Regions from separate parts of the Homo sapiens genome. Here regions 2 and 3 are each linked to region 1. The links are contacts of gene promoters, found by promoter capture Hi-C in human tissues and cell types (Jung and others, 2019). All regions are on one chromosome and are shown on one strand. Each heading gives the region's core, a stretch centred on a gene start or on the middle of the fragment in contact. The rest is flanking DNA. Distances are from core to core; before and after follow the strand shown.

The links. The method cuts DNA at HindIII sites, captures the fragments that hold promoters and counts their contacts. A contact is called where the count stands out against the background at its distance.
Region 2: a fragment that was not itself captured here is called in contact with the fragment with the promoter of CXADR in region 1 in 1 of the 25 tissues and cell types used here (lymphoblastoid cells).
Region 3: a contact is called between a fragment that was not itself captured here and the fragment with the promoter of CXADR in region 1, in 1 of the 25 tissues and cell types used here (dorsolateral prefrontal cortex).

The regions. Positions count from the first base shown.
Region 1 is chr21:17,511,771-17,516,515 of GRCh38, reverse strand. CXADR (CXADR cell adhesion molecule) reads right to left here and starts at 3,473. Exons shown (of 7, transcript NM_001338.5): 1 at 3,344-3,473. The coding sequence starts at 3,386. RefSeq lists silencers at 3,303-3,842, 3,903-4,022. The HindIII fragment of the contact is 6,448 bases long and covers 1-4,745 here.
Region 2 is chr21:16,390,958-16,395,560 of GRCh38, reverse strand. MIR99AHG (mir-99a-let-7c cluster host gene) reads right to left here. Exons shown (of 10, transcript NR_136541.1): 5 at 3,876-3,947. Among named protein-coding and RNA genes, the nearest start is that of SNORD74B, 110 kb to the right of the region's middle. The HindIII fragment of the contact is 4,617 bases long and covers 660-4,603 here.
Region 3 is chr21:15,743,358-15,747,520 of GRCh38, reverse strand. All of the region lies in intron 1 of USP25 (ubiquitin specific peptidase 25), which reads right to left. It also overlaps the pseudogene RBPMSLP. Among named protein-coding and RNA genes, the nearest start is that of USP25, 15 kb to the right of the region's middle. The HindIII fragment of the contact is 4,683 bases long and covers 1-4,163 here.

The DNA.
Region 1 (4,745 bases), core at 2,224-4,723:
GCTGACGCTGCAGGTCCCTAGGCCACATTAGTTTACAATGTCAACCCAAGCCCTGGAGAAACTAGTGTCCTCACAATGCCTCAAAGTATTCAATTAAGACTATGACATTAAAGAGCTAATAATAAAAGCCTTCAGTATTTGACACACAGTCAAACCAACAGTAGGTTCTTAATAAATGACAGATGACCAGTGGTAGTAAGAGAAAGTGGCTGCTGTAGGGACAGAAGAGCATAGTGTGATGAGAACACAGATTCAAGAGCAAATCTGTGATCTTCACAAGTTAATTATATAACGACTCTGTGCCTCTGTTTCTCTATTTGTACAACAGGGATAAGTATAATAAATACCCTCTCGGGTTGCTTGGTGGATTGAATATATAGGTATGTAAAGCCCTTAGAACAGTATCTGGCATTTCATAACTGATCAAGGGTTTAATTTTACTACTACTGCTACTGCCACTGCTTACTACTGCTGCTACTACTGATTACTAGTAGTATGACTCACTAGTAGGCAGCCAATAAAAATGCATCGAAAGGAGTCCCATCTGCAGCCAGAGTATACCACAAAACTGTTTCAGAGCTGGAGGAATATCTATCACTGACGGTATAATCTGAATGAGTCTTTCCCTTGTTTTGCTAAAGTAGGAGTCAATCATGTTAACAGTGAACTTGAGTTAATAACAATGCCTTTTTTTTTGTTTATTTGTTTCAGAGACGGAGTCTAGCTCTGTCGCCCAGGCTGGAATGCAGTGGCGCGATGTGGGCTCACTGCAAGCTACGCCTCCCGGGTTCACGCCATTCTCCTGCCTCAGCCTCAGCTGGTACTACAGGCGCCTGCCACCAGGCTCGGCTAATTTTTTTGTATTTTTAGTAGGGACGGGGTTTCACCGTGTTAGCCAGGATGGTCTCGATCTCCTAACCTCATGATCTGCCCGCCTCGGCCTCCCAAAGTGCTGGGATTACAGGCGTGAGCCACCGCGCCCGGCCCATACCAATGCATTTCTAAATGGTCAGAAATATCTGAAGAAATAAAGCCATTCATCAATTAGTATGTCTTCTTTTTTTTTTTGAGACAGAGTCTCACTCTGTCGCCCAGGCTCGAGAGCAGCGTCATGATCTTAGACCTCATGAGCTTAGACCTCCCAGGCTCCGGCAAACCTCCCATCTCAGCCTCCCGCGTAGCTGGGACTATGACAAGCATCACTGCACCTAGCTAGTTCTTTTTGGGTTTTATTTTGTTGTATTTTTTGTAGAAATGCGGTCTCGCCATGTTGCCCAGGCTGGTCTCAAACTCCTACACTCAAATGACCCTCCCGTCTCAACCTCCCAAATTGCTGGGATTACAAGCACCGTGCCTGGCCTCAGCTGTTCTTAAACTGAAAAACTGGAATAAAGATAGTTGCCTTGTTTAGCTGAGACACTGGCCCTTCGAGTAGATGTTCACTGTACCCGTGTATACCTTATGAGCACAATGACTCTCTGCATCAAAATATTATTTCTTAGAATTGTGCCTATCAAAGTGAGGCATTCCAAAAAAAAAAAATTAAATCCAATTATCTAAATATTCCCGTTAAAACAACAACAACTAGTTCCTGCCAGGCATGGTGGCTCACGCTTGTAATCCCAGGACTCTGGGAGGCTGAGGGAGGCGGATCACCTGAGGTCGGGAGTTTGAGACCAGCCTGACCAACATGGTTTCTACTAAAAATAAAAAAGTTAGCCGGGCATGGTGGGGGGTGCCTGTAATCCCAGCTACTCAGGAGGCTGAGGCAGGAGAATCGCTTAAACGCGGGGGGCGGAGGTTGTGGTGAGCCAAGATCACGCCATTGCACTCCAGCCTGTGCAACAAGAGCGAAACTCCATTTAAAAAAAAAAAAAAGTTCCTCCACATAATTTATGTTCTTCCACTTTTCTGCTTTAGATGTGGTCTAAAACTATTTTTTTTTTTTTTCCCAGAGAACACACTGTGTTCTCAACTTCATCTTCAGGTTCGGCCTAGACAAAAAAAAGAAAAAAAAGAAAGAAAGGTGGGAATGTACCTGTAAACTGGTTCTATGACCCTTCATCTTCTCCGGAAGGCTTACTTTGGACATTTCAGCCCGCCAAGTCTAAATGATATATATCAAAAAGGTGGAGGTAGTGCTATAGGCTCAGATCGAAGATTAGACTTGCTAATAGAATGTTGATCCCATGAGTAATGCTCACAGCTGTGGCATCCAACAATGGAATTAACATTTCAACAGGAAGCAGAGAGCCATCCCAACAGAAAGGGCCACTAGATCCTGCTTCAGAGCACCTAACAACAAAAAATTACCCTTCCAGAGGCTATACTAAGTGCGCCTCCTAGGATCCCACCTACGGATTTTTAAAAATGAATTATTTGGTTATAAAACGCAGCAAGTGCTTAGTTTGACAAACAAGATCAGTTGGTTAAAACACCGACATGGAAAATCCGTTTTTTAAAGTGTCAAAATGATTACGCCTCCTAATGGTCCACGCATTTTTCACATGCCTTTTTTCCCCTCCCAGAGAAAGGAGCAGTCGACAAACGCACTTGGCAAATCCTCTAGCAATTACCCTGTACAACTCAGCCCGTCTTATCTCCAAAATGAACGACTCATTACAAACTCAAAAACGAGGTCACTGAATTCTCCTTTGCACTTCGCCCAAGGACTGCAGAAACCAATGCTACATTTTTGCAGGAACCCACTTTTGATTTTCCACGGTCTCCTTCACAATGCGCGTCTGGTTAGCAGCTCCTGCCTGGGCGAGCTGCTTCCAGGAGACTAACACCGTCCAGGCTGGCGTTCGCTCAGCGCCTCTTTCCTAGAGGTAGCCTGGCCGATCCGAGGCACCGGGCAGCTCCATGTCCATTGAATAATGGCGTTTGCAATTCAGCCTCCCCGCCTGGGCGACTCGACACCTGAAAACTCGCCGCCCAAGGTTTTTGAAATCGGGTAACGCTGGAGAGAACCGACACGAAGGCTGACAAGGGAGACGGCGAGAGCAAAGAAAGGCAAGCCCGCACCGGGGCAGAGAATGCTATGGGAGAGCTGCGAGGCGCACCCGACACGCCGCGCCCGAGCCCCTCCGCCTCCACCCCCCGCCGAGGGCTCCGTCCCCGGGCACTCCGCGCGCCCTGCGCGGCTCCCTACGGGACGGCTCCAGGAGCGCCCGGCCCAGCAAAAGCGCCCCTGTGCAATTCTGCCCGCCCCGCCGCCCCTGCAGCAGCGCCCCCAAATCGCGCCCGCCCCCTCCCCCACGCCCCATTGTTCCTGGGTGGCCGCGGGCAGCGAGCGCCCCCGGGCTGGGCGGGTGCTGAGGACCCCATGGCCCCTACTCACCCACTACTCCGCACAGGAGCACGAAGCACAGCAGGAGCGCCATGGTGGCTGCCGTGCCGTGGGCGGCGGCTGCAGGTAGGCGGCTCTCGCTCCTGGTCCCAGGCTCCCCGCGCCTCGCGCGCTCCCGACTGGCTCGCGGCGGCGGCGGCACCTCTGCACCCTCCGCCCCTCCTCCCAGCCCCCGCTCGGCAGGTGAACTCGCGTCACTTCCGGCAGCGGCCCGGGCCGGGCTGCGAGCGCCGGCTTCTCCAGCCGCGTGGGGTTGCCTTGGCAACCGGGCGAGGCGCTCTTCTGTCCCCGGGACCCTCCCGGCGCCGAACTCTCAGCCTCCCGGCGCGCGGCGTCGTAGGTCGCGGGCGGCCGCCTCCCACGCCGCAAGCCTGCGCAGGGGTCCCCGCCTCCATCCCTTAAGCTAAACCAGGGTTTTGCGCGCGGGGGTGGGGCAGCCCGTCTCCCACATACTGAAATTGCGTTGGCGCCCTCCTTTAAGGCGAGGCACGGGACACTCCCAGGGGCCGCCACTAGGGCGGCTCCTACCCTCCGCCCCGCCTGCACCCACCCGTCCCACCCCTCGCGGTTTGCCCCAGGGGCAGGTTCTCTGACCTCATGCTCACGGGATGCGACCTGTGCAGCCCCTGGCCTTCGCTCTCTTAACGAGCCGCTCTGGCTGACATAAAAAGCGCGAGAGGGCTTTTCTCCATCTCTGGTAGGGATAGAGCCCCTCTGCAGCTACCGATTTGGGAAATACCTGAGGTTTTTTCCACTTGCACAGAAAGGCTATTCTAGCCCTGAAGCTGGCTAGTAAGACGCTATAGTCCCAGCTACTCCGGAGGCTGAGGTAGGCAGACAACTATTATCCAATATTAGTGAGTGAGCTTTGAAAGTGGGGCTCAGTAGTTGTGGTTGAAGGCGTCAGTTGGAGTGTGGGGTCGGGGAATTGGAGATCTTGAAAGTTGTTGTCGGCTGCTCTTCCAGATAACGTTTATTTATAACTACATAGAGACTTTGTAGTGCCGCGACAGTTCCATAACAGAAATGAATTGAAGAAGAGGAGCGGTGGGTAAGAGCTTATTCCGCGGAGTGGGGCAGTAACTGGGCAGGTTTCATAGAAATGGCACCTACTTCGGGGTTGCTATGAAAGTTAAATGAGATAATGCACAAAAAATGCTTGGCACCCTGCCTGGCACGTAGTTTTAATTAGCTTCCACTTACTGAGTTCTTGCTTACAGGGTTCCTGCTTATGTAGTCTATAAGCTTACATAGTTTGTAAGTTCCTGCTTACTATCTAGACTAAGCAGGAACCCCCGTAAGCAGAATTCAGTAAGTGGAAGCTAATAAAACTAATATTGGAAAATTCTTATTATGCATTGAACCAGAAAAGAGAAGGGGCAAAGAAATCAGG
Region 2 (4,603 bases), core at 1,719-4,218, 1.1 Mb after region 1:
CTTTTCATTACACACAACCAAAGTACAGGACTGTGCAGTCGGAATTCTTACACAAGAGCTGGGACCGTGCCCTATAGCCTTTCTATCCAAACAACTCAACTTCACAATTCTGGGCTGGCCCTCATGTTTGTGCCATTTAAATACTTCTAGAGGCCATCAAAAATCACAGGCTATGCTCCACTTACCCTTTACAGCTCTCACAACCTTCAAGCATTAATATCCTCCTCATACCTTTCACATTTATTGTCTGCCCCCCAACTCCTCCAGCTCTATTCACTCTTTGTTGAAACTCCAATAGTAACTATTACCCATGGGCCTGATTTCAACCCAGCTTCTCATTTAGCACCCAACACAAGTCCTGAACCACATGACTGTATTTCCCTAACACACATAGGATCTTCTCCCTTTCCTCATATTTCTAATCTTCCCATTCCAAACCCGGACCACACTTGGTTTATTGATGGCGGTTCTTCTAAACCCAATCAATTTTCACCAGCTAAAGCTGGATATGCTGTCATGTCCCACACCTCTATTATTGAAGCTGCTGCACTTCCTCCCTCCACCACTTCCCAACAAGCCAAACTGATTGCTTTAACTCGTGTGCTCTCTCTAGCTAAAGGAATGCACATTAACATTTATACTGACTCCATATATGCTTTCCACATCCTCCATAACCATGCTGCCATCTGGGTCAAAAGAGGCTTCCTTACCACACAAAGCTCTTCCACTAATAATGCCTCCCTAATAGAGGCCCTTAAGGTTGTTCTCCTGCCAGCCAAGGCTGGAATCATTCATTGTAAAGGACACCAGAAACCTACTGATCTTATTGCAAAAAAAAAATAACCAATGCCTCCACACCCGCTAATATTCCAGCCCCCACTCCGGAGGGCCAGTATTTTTTTTTCTCCTCTATCACTCCCACCTACTCTTCTTCTGAAAACCTGCTCTACCAGTCTTTTCCAACTCAGGGCAAGTGGTTCTTAGATCATGGAAAACTCATCCTTCCTGCCTCACAAGCTCAGTCCATTCTTTCGTCTTTTCATAACCTCTTCCATGTAAGTTACAAGCCACTAGCCCGCCTCTTAGAACCTCTCATTTCCTTTAAGACATTTGCCCTGCATTTCACTCCATCCTTAGCTACCTTCCCCTTGTTCTTTGGACTCTCCTCTTAGCCCCTCCTCTTGCTTGCTTATACCCAGCCCCATGAATAGCAGTGAACGGTTACTCGTAGACACTTTGTACTTTCTCATACACCATAAAAATCAAACCTCCCCTTCTACCCAGTTGCTCCATCAATCCCCATTACAACCTCTAACGGCTGCTGCCCTTACTAAATCCCTAAGAGTCTGGGTGCAAGACACCTGTTTTGGTGCTCCCTCTTGTCTTTTCACTTTACATTTCCAGTTTTGCCTTACAAAGTTCTCTTCTTGGACATGAACAGACACTTCTCAAACGAAGACATTTATGCAGCCAAAAAACACATGAAGAAATGCTCACCATCACTGGCCATCAGAGAAATGCAAATCAAAACCACAATGAGATACCATCTCACACCAGTTAGAATGGCAATCATTAAAAAGTCGGGAAACAACAGGTGCTGGAGAGGTTGTGGAGAAATAGGAACACTTTTACACTGTTGGTGGGACTGTAAACTAGTTCAACCATTGTGGAAGTCAGTGTGGCGATTCCTCAGGGATCTAGAACTAGGAATACCATTTGACCCAGCCATCCCATTACTGGGTATATACCCAAAGGACTATAAATCATGCTGCTATAAAGTCACGTGCACACGTATGTTTATTGCACTATTCACAATAGCAAAGACTTGGAACCAATCCAAACGACCAACAATGATAGACTGGATTAAGAAAACGTGGCACATATACACCATGGAATACTATGCAGCCATAAAAAATGAGAAGTTCGTGTCCTTTATAGGGACATGGATGAAATTGGAAATCATCATTCTCAGTAAACTATCGCAAGGACAAAAATCCAAACACCGCATGTTCTCACTCATAGGTGAGATTTGAACAATGAGAACCCATGGACACAGGAAGGGGAACGTCACACTCTGGTGACTGTTGTGGGGTGGGGGGAAGGGGGAGGGATAGCATTAGGAGATATACCTAAAGCTAAATGACGAGTTAATGGGTGCAGCACAGCAGCATGGCACACGTATACATATGTAACTAACCTGCACATTGTGCACATGTACCCTAAAACTTAAAGTATAATAATAATAATAATAATAATAATAAAAAAGATGTCTTCCTCCTCTGTGGCTCCTTCACCTACATGTGTCTACCTATTAATTAGACAGGCACATGTACACTAGTTAGCCTTACCCCCAAAATCAATTTGCAAATAGGACCGAACAGCTTCCTGTTCCCCTCATGACACTAACACTTTACTTCTATTTTGTTTTTTTATTATTATTATTAATATAAGAAAACAGGAACAGGCCTTGACTTACTCACTGCTGAAAAAGGAAGACTCTGTGTATTTTTAAATGAAGAGTGTTGTTTTTACCTAAATCAGTCTGGCCTGGTATATGACAACATAAAAAAATGCAAGGATAGAGCCCAAAAACTCATCAAACAAGCAAATAATTAGGCTGAACCCCCTTGGGCACTCTCTAGTTGAATGTCCTGGGTCCTCCCAATTCTTAGTCCTTTGATACCTGTTTTTCTCTTTCTCTTACTTGGCCCTTGTGTCTTCCAATTAATCTCTCAATTCCTACAAAACTGCATCCAGACTATCACTAATCACTCTATATGACAAATGCTGCTTCTAACAACCCCACAATATCACCCCTTACCCCAAAATCTTTCTTCAGTTTAATCACTCCCACTCTAGGTTCCCACACTGCCCCTAATCCTGCTCAAAGCAGCCCTGAGAAACATCGCCCATTATCTCTCCATACCACCCGCAAAAATTTTTGCCACCCCAACACTTCACCACCATTTTGTTTTGTTTTTCTTATTAACAGAAGAAGACAGGAATGTCAGGCCTCTGAGCTCAAGCTAAGCCATCATATCCCCTGTGACCTGCATGTATACATCCAGATGGCCTGAAGCAACTGAAGATCCACAAAAGAAGTGCAAATAGCCAGGTCCTGCCTTAGCTGACGACATTCCACCATTGTGACCTGTTCCTGCCGCACCCTAACTGATCAATTGACCTTATGACAATACACCCTCCCCGCCCTTGCGATAATGTACTTTGAGATATTCCCCTACCCTTGAGAAGGTACTTTGTGATATTTCCCCACCCTTGAGAAGGTACTTTGTGATATTCTCCCACCCTTGAGAAGTTACTTTGTGATATTCCCCCACCCTTGAGAAGGTACTTTGTGATATTCCCCCACCCTTGAAAAGGTACTTTGTAATACTCTCCCTGCCCTTGAGAATGTACTTTGTGAGATCTACCCCCTGCTCCTAACTCCACCGCCTATCCCAAACCTATAAGAACTAACGATAATCCCACCACACTTTGCTCACTCTCTTTTCAGACTCAGCCCACCTGCACCCAGGTGATTAAAAAGCTTTATTGCTCACACAAAGCCTGTTTGGTGGTCTCTTCACATGGACGTGCGTGACATTAATCACATAAGCAACCTTAATTTTCCCTAATTAAAAATTAGAGTAAAATCACCTGCCATGAGTGATAGCCAAGTATCTTTTACACCAAGTTTATCAAAATAAGCTTTTAGGAGTGGAACAATTTTGATCAACTGTGTTAATATTTCAGAACTGCTTGCAACAGTGACTACCATAAGTATGCATTTTTCTATGCATGCAACTTACAAGTGATAACTGCCCAATGGAGCACTAGAAATGTGGTCACATTGATCTTTTTTGCAAGTCACTTACCATATTGTGTATTCCATTCTCTTCTTGTTCAAATCTTGACATTGAGAATTCTCTTCATCTCAGAAAGAGCTCCTGAAAAGTATTTTTAGATTATAAAAGATTGCATTTATGCATACACATACATTTCCCCTAAATAATGATCCATATCTTTTAGATATTTGCAATATTTATTAAGAGTTACAGGTCCAGAAACAATCAGCAACTTAGTAGATTATCTCTAAGCACACTTGATTTTTACTGAATGCTGTCGAGGCATCAAAATGTACATATTCACCTTTAAAAAGTGTTAACTTTGCATTTATTGTTTCATCCGCAGGGCTAACAGCTGGGTATTACTGTTGTTTTTGTTGTTGTTGTTTTAAGCGACTATCTGAGGTGTTAAGAGGTCCTAATTAAGTAAATTTAACAAACACAGCATTAAGTTTCAAAATCGAAGTGTTAGAACAGATACCTGTTTGATCTGCAGGTAACTAATGAGAGCAACAGTACATCACAAACACCTTTGATGTTATTCCTGCCTCAGCATATTTGGTTTGATAAAAAATATCTCACTCAAGTAACTGCCCAACATATTGCCCTGAGAGACCGAGAGAGAATTAACGATTTAATTCTAGTTTTTCCTGCCCTTGTTTTGCAAATAAATGAAGACATGGATGGATGGGTTTTTTGAAACACCAATGATCTGTGTTACAGTGTAGCATTATCATTCCTGGGAGGAGCATGCCGTT
Region 3 (4,163 bases), core at 794-3,293, 1.8 Mb after region 1:
TTTATCACAGGTAGATACTATATATAGGAAAAAAACTATATGTACTATATAGTTATATAGTGCCTAATTTATAAATTAAACTTTATCACAGGTATATATAGATAAGAAAAAACTATATATACTATATTCTATATAGTACTGAACCATACTATATATGGTATACTATTTCAAATATTTTGAAAACATATACAGTATGTTATGTGAATGTAGTCTCTTTCAAAATATACTCTATAAATGGTTCAATACTAGCCACAGTTTCAGGCATCCACTGGGGGTCTTGGAACACATTCCATGAGAGTAAACGTGGACTATTGTAAATAGAAAAACAAAAGTAGTATCTAAACCATAAAGAACTACCTCAAATCATAAAGAAAAAGATAAATAGCCCAAAAGAAAAAACAGGCAAGAGAAACAAATGTCAATTTCACAGAAAAGAATCACAGTGGACCATAAATATATAAAAAGATATATAAACAAATAGTTTAACTGTAGAATGGTTAAGCTGTAGTATATCTAGAAGTATAAATTAACAATAACACATTTTTAACAAAATAAGAAGTGCAACAACTAAAACCATACTTAGTAGTAAAAGACTGCTTTCCATACAAAATCGGGAACAAGACAAAGATGTCTGTCATTACCACTTCTATTAAACATTTTAGAGAATACCCCAAAAAGCACAATTTTTAAAATGAATAAAAGTGGTAAATACATTTATTAGAATAAGTGAATTTCGCAAAGTCGCAGATACAAGCTTCATACAGAAAAATCAACCACATTCTATATACCAGCAAAAAACAATTGGAATAAAAACTAAAAACCACTGGCAGGGTGCAGTGGCTCACAACTGTAATCCCAGCACTTTGGGAGGCCGAGGCTGGTGGATCATGCTGTCCAGAGATCAAGACTATCCTGGCTATAACACAGTGAAACTCCATCTCTACTAAAAATACAAAAAATTAGCCGGGTGTGGTGGCACACACCTGTAGTCCCAGCTACTAGGGAGGCTGAGGCAGGAGAATCGCTTGAACCTGGGAGGCGGCGGTTGCAGTGAAAGTGAGACTGCGTCTCAAAAAAAATAAAAATAAAAATAAAAAATACCACTTACAATAGCATCAAAAAAGTCAACTGTAACAAAAGATATGCAAAGACCTTTAAACCGTTAAAAAACAAAACCTAAATAAATGGAGAAATATATGTGTTCTTGGATTGAAAGGCTAAAATACTGTAAAGATGTCCAAACAGTCAGAAAGAATCCATACATCCAACACAATCCTACTCAGAAACCCCAGAAGGCTCTTTGTCCAACTGTTCAAAGTACCTCAGAATTGTATATGGAAATACAAAAAATTCTAGAATAGCCAAAACAAATTTCTAACAAGAACAAAGTTGAAGAATTTACATTCACCCACTTCAAGGCACATTTCAAAGCCACAGTAATCAAGAAAGAACGGCACCACATAAGGATAGAAAGGAACTGAGTTCAAAAATAAACCCACTCATACATGATCAATTAATTTTCCATAAAGGTACCAATATAATTCAATGATGAAAGGACAGCTTTTTCAAAAGTAGGTGCTGGGACTAGATTCCACATGCAATAAATGAACCTTGACTTAGTGACACCTCAGAACACACACAGAAATGAATTCCAAATGGATCGTAAACCTAAAATGGCAAAACTTCTAGAACAAAACACAGGGAGAAAAAATTTACAAACTAAGTTTCAAGAAAATGGTTAAAGCAGCCGGGCGTGGTGGCTCACGCCTGTAATCCCAGCACTTTGGGAGACCGAGGCGGGCGGATCACCTGAGGTCGCGAGTTCGAGACCAGGCTGGCCAACATGGTGAAACCCTGTCTCTACTAAAAATACAAAAATTAGCTGAGCGTGGTGGTGCATGCCTGTAATCCCAGCTACTCAGGAGGCTGAGGCAGAAGAATCGCTTGAACCCAGGGAGGCGGAGGCTGCAGTGAGTGAGATCATGCCATTGCACTCCAGCCTGGGCAATAAGAGTGAAATTCCGTCACAAAAAAAAAAAAAAAAAAAGAAAAGAAAAAGAAAAAGAAAATGGTTAAAGTACTAACCATAAAAGTAAATTAAACAATCAATATTAAAATACTTCAACTTCAAAGAAACTGTTAAGAAAATGCAAATACAAGCCACACATTGGGAGAAAGTATTTGTAATTACATATACATGATAAAAGACAACCAAAATATAAAGAATTCCTACAACTCAACAGCAAGAAGATAACCCAACTAAGAAATTGGGAAATAATCTTAACATGTTAAAAAGAAGACATAAAAATGGTCAATAAGGAAAAGACAGAGGCCCTGGGTTATCAGTAGCTCTCCTGCAACATCCCCTGCCTGCCTCCCACACCTCCCTCCCCCCGACCATAAAAGATGCCCCTGCTTAGAAGCTTAAGGCAGAACAACATCAGCACTCAGGAAAAGAAGGAGTGGGAAGGGAGGGGAAGGGAGGGGAAGTGGCGGGGATGGAGGCCGTGGCCCTAAAGTGGTCAGTCAGCCCTCTTGCTTTAGACAGCAAACCGAGAGAATTCTACACACTCTTCTGCTCATGCAAGAAATGCTTGGAAGAGCATTTACTTTCATTCAAAAGCGGCAGACCCGGCGGGGTGCGGTGGCTCACGCCTGTAATCCCAGCACTTTGGGAGGCTGAGGCAGGTGGATCACCTGAGGTCAGGAGTTCAAGACTCGCCTGGACAACATGGAAAACCCCATCTCTAGTAAAAATACAAAAATTAGACGGGTGTGGTGGCAGGCACCTGTAGTCCCAGCTACTCAGGAGGTTGGGGCAGGAGAATCGCTTGAACCTGGGAGGTGGGGGCTGCCGTGAGCTGAGATCACACCACTGCACTCCAGCCTGGGCAACAAGAACGAAGCTCTGCCCCAAAACAACAACAACAACAAAACTGCAGACCCTAGGAGGCCGAGACAGGAAGATCACTTGAGGTCAGGAGTTCAAGACCAGCCTGGCCAACATGGCAAAACCCCGTCATAAAAATTAGCCAGGCCTGGTGGCGTGTACCTGTAGTCCCAGCTATGTGGGATGCTGAGGCATGACAATCACTTGAACCCAGGAGGCAGAGGTTGCAGTGAGCCAGATTGCACCACTGCACTCCAGCCTGGGTGACACGGTGAGACCTTTGTCTCAAAAATAACAACAACAACAAAAAAACGCAGACCCTAAGGTTTGCCTAAGCCAACACCAAGATGGACAAAAATAAAGTAATGGCAAACCCCACCAATGTTCACACAGCCCTAGGACCACACCTCCTAGCACAGGACCCCATGACCTGAGGGAGTGGCTCTGATCTCTGTAACCCCAAAGGCCTGAAACCCCTACCCACTTTACACCATAGAAACCACAGAGCTGACCAGGGTCATCTTATATGCTGCTTTCAGCTACTCTGCTACAGTTCGACATGCTCAGGTACACTGGTGCTCTCCTCCTGGCGCCACCCAGCAAGAATGGAAACACTGTCAGTTCTGTAAGTTCCACTGTTCTAAGTGACTTCAATTCCTGCCTCACTTGGGAAGAAGCCTAGAAGCCAGTTCTGCAAATCTGCATGATGCTACCAAAATTGGTAAAGAGAGTGTCCACTGACCCCAGGAGGCCTGCGCAGAGCTGTTTCTGATAGCCACAGTAGACAAATTCCCAGGCAGGCAGGGACAGTAGACAAATTCCTAGGCAGGCGCCACAGTAGACCAATTCCTAGGCAGGCGCCACAGTAGACCAACTCCTAGGCAGGCAGGGACAGGTCCCTGGTGAAACCTGACCTTCAAACCAAAGACAGTTTAAAGCCTACCAAGCTGCCTGTTCTAGATATAGATAGAGTCCACAGCTGGAGTGAAAACTTTTCTTTTTGCCTACTCTTTCCCAATTGGTTCTTTCCGAATAATGCTTTTAAACCAATTGAATGTTGCCTTTTCCAAGGCTACCTCCAGCCCACATCTCCTCATTCCAAACCTAAAAAAACCCTGGACTCAACTGCAAAGATGGCTACCAGCTTTTGGGGCCCCCTCACACAGAGGGCTATCCACTTCACGTCCCCTCTCATTGTCAAGAGCTTTTCTGTTGCTCAATAACATTCTTCTCTGCCTTCCTCACTCTCTGGTGTCCACGTACCTCATTATTC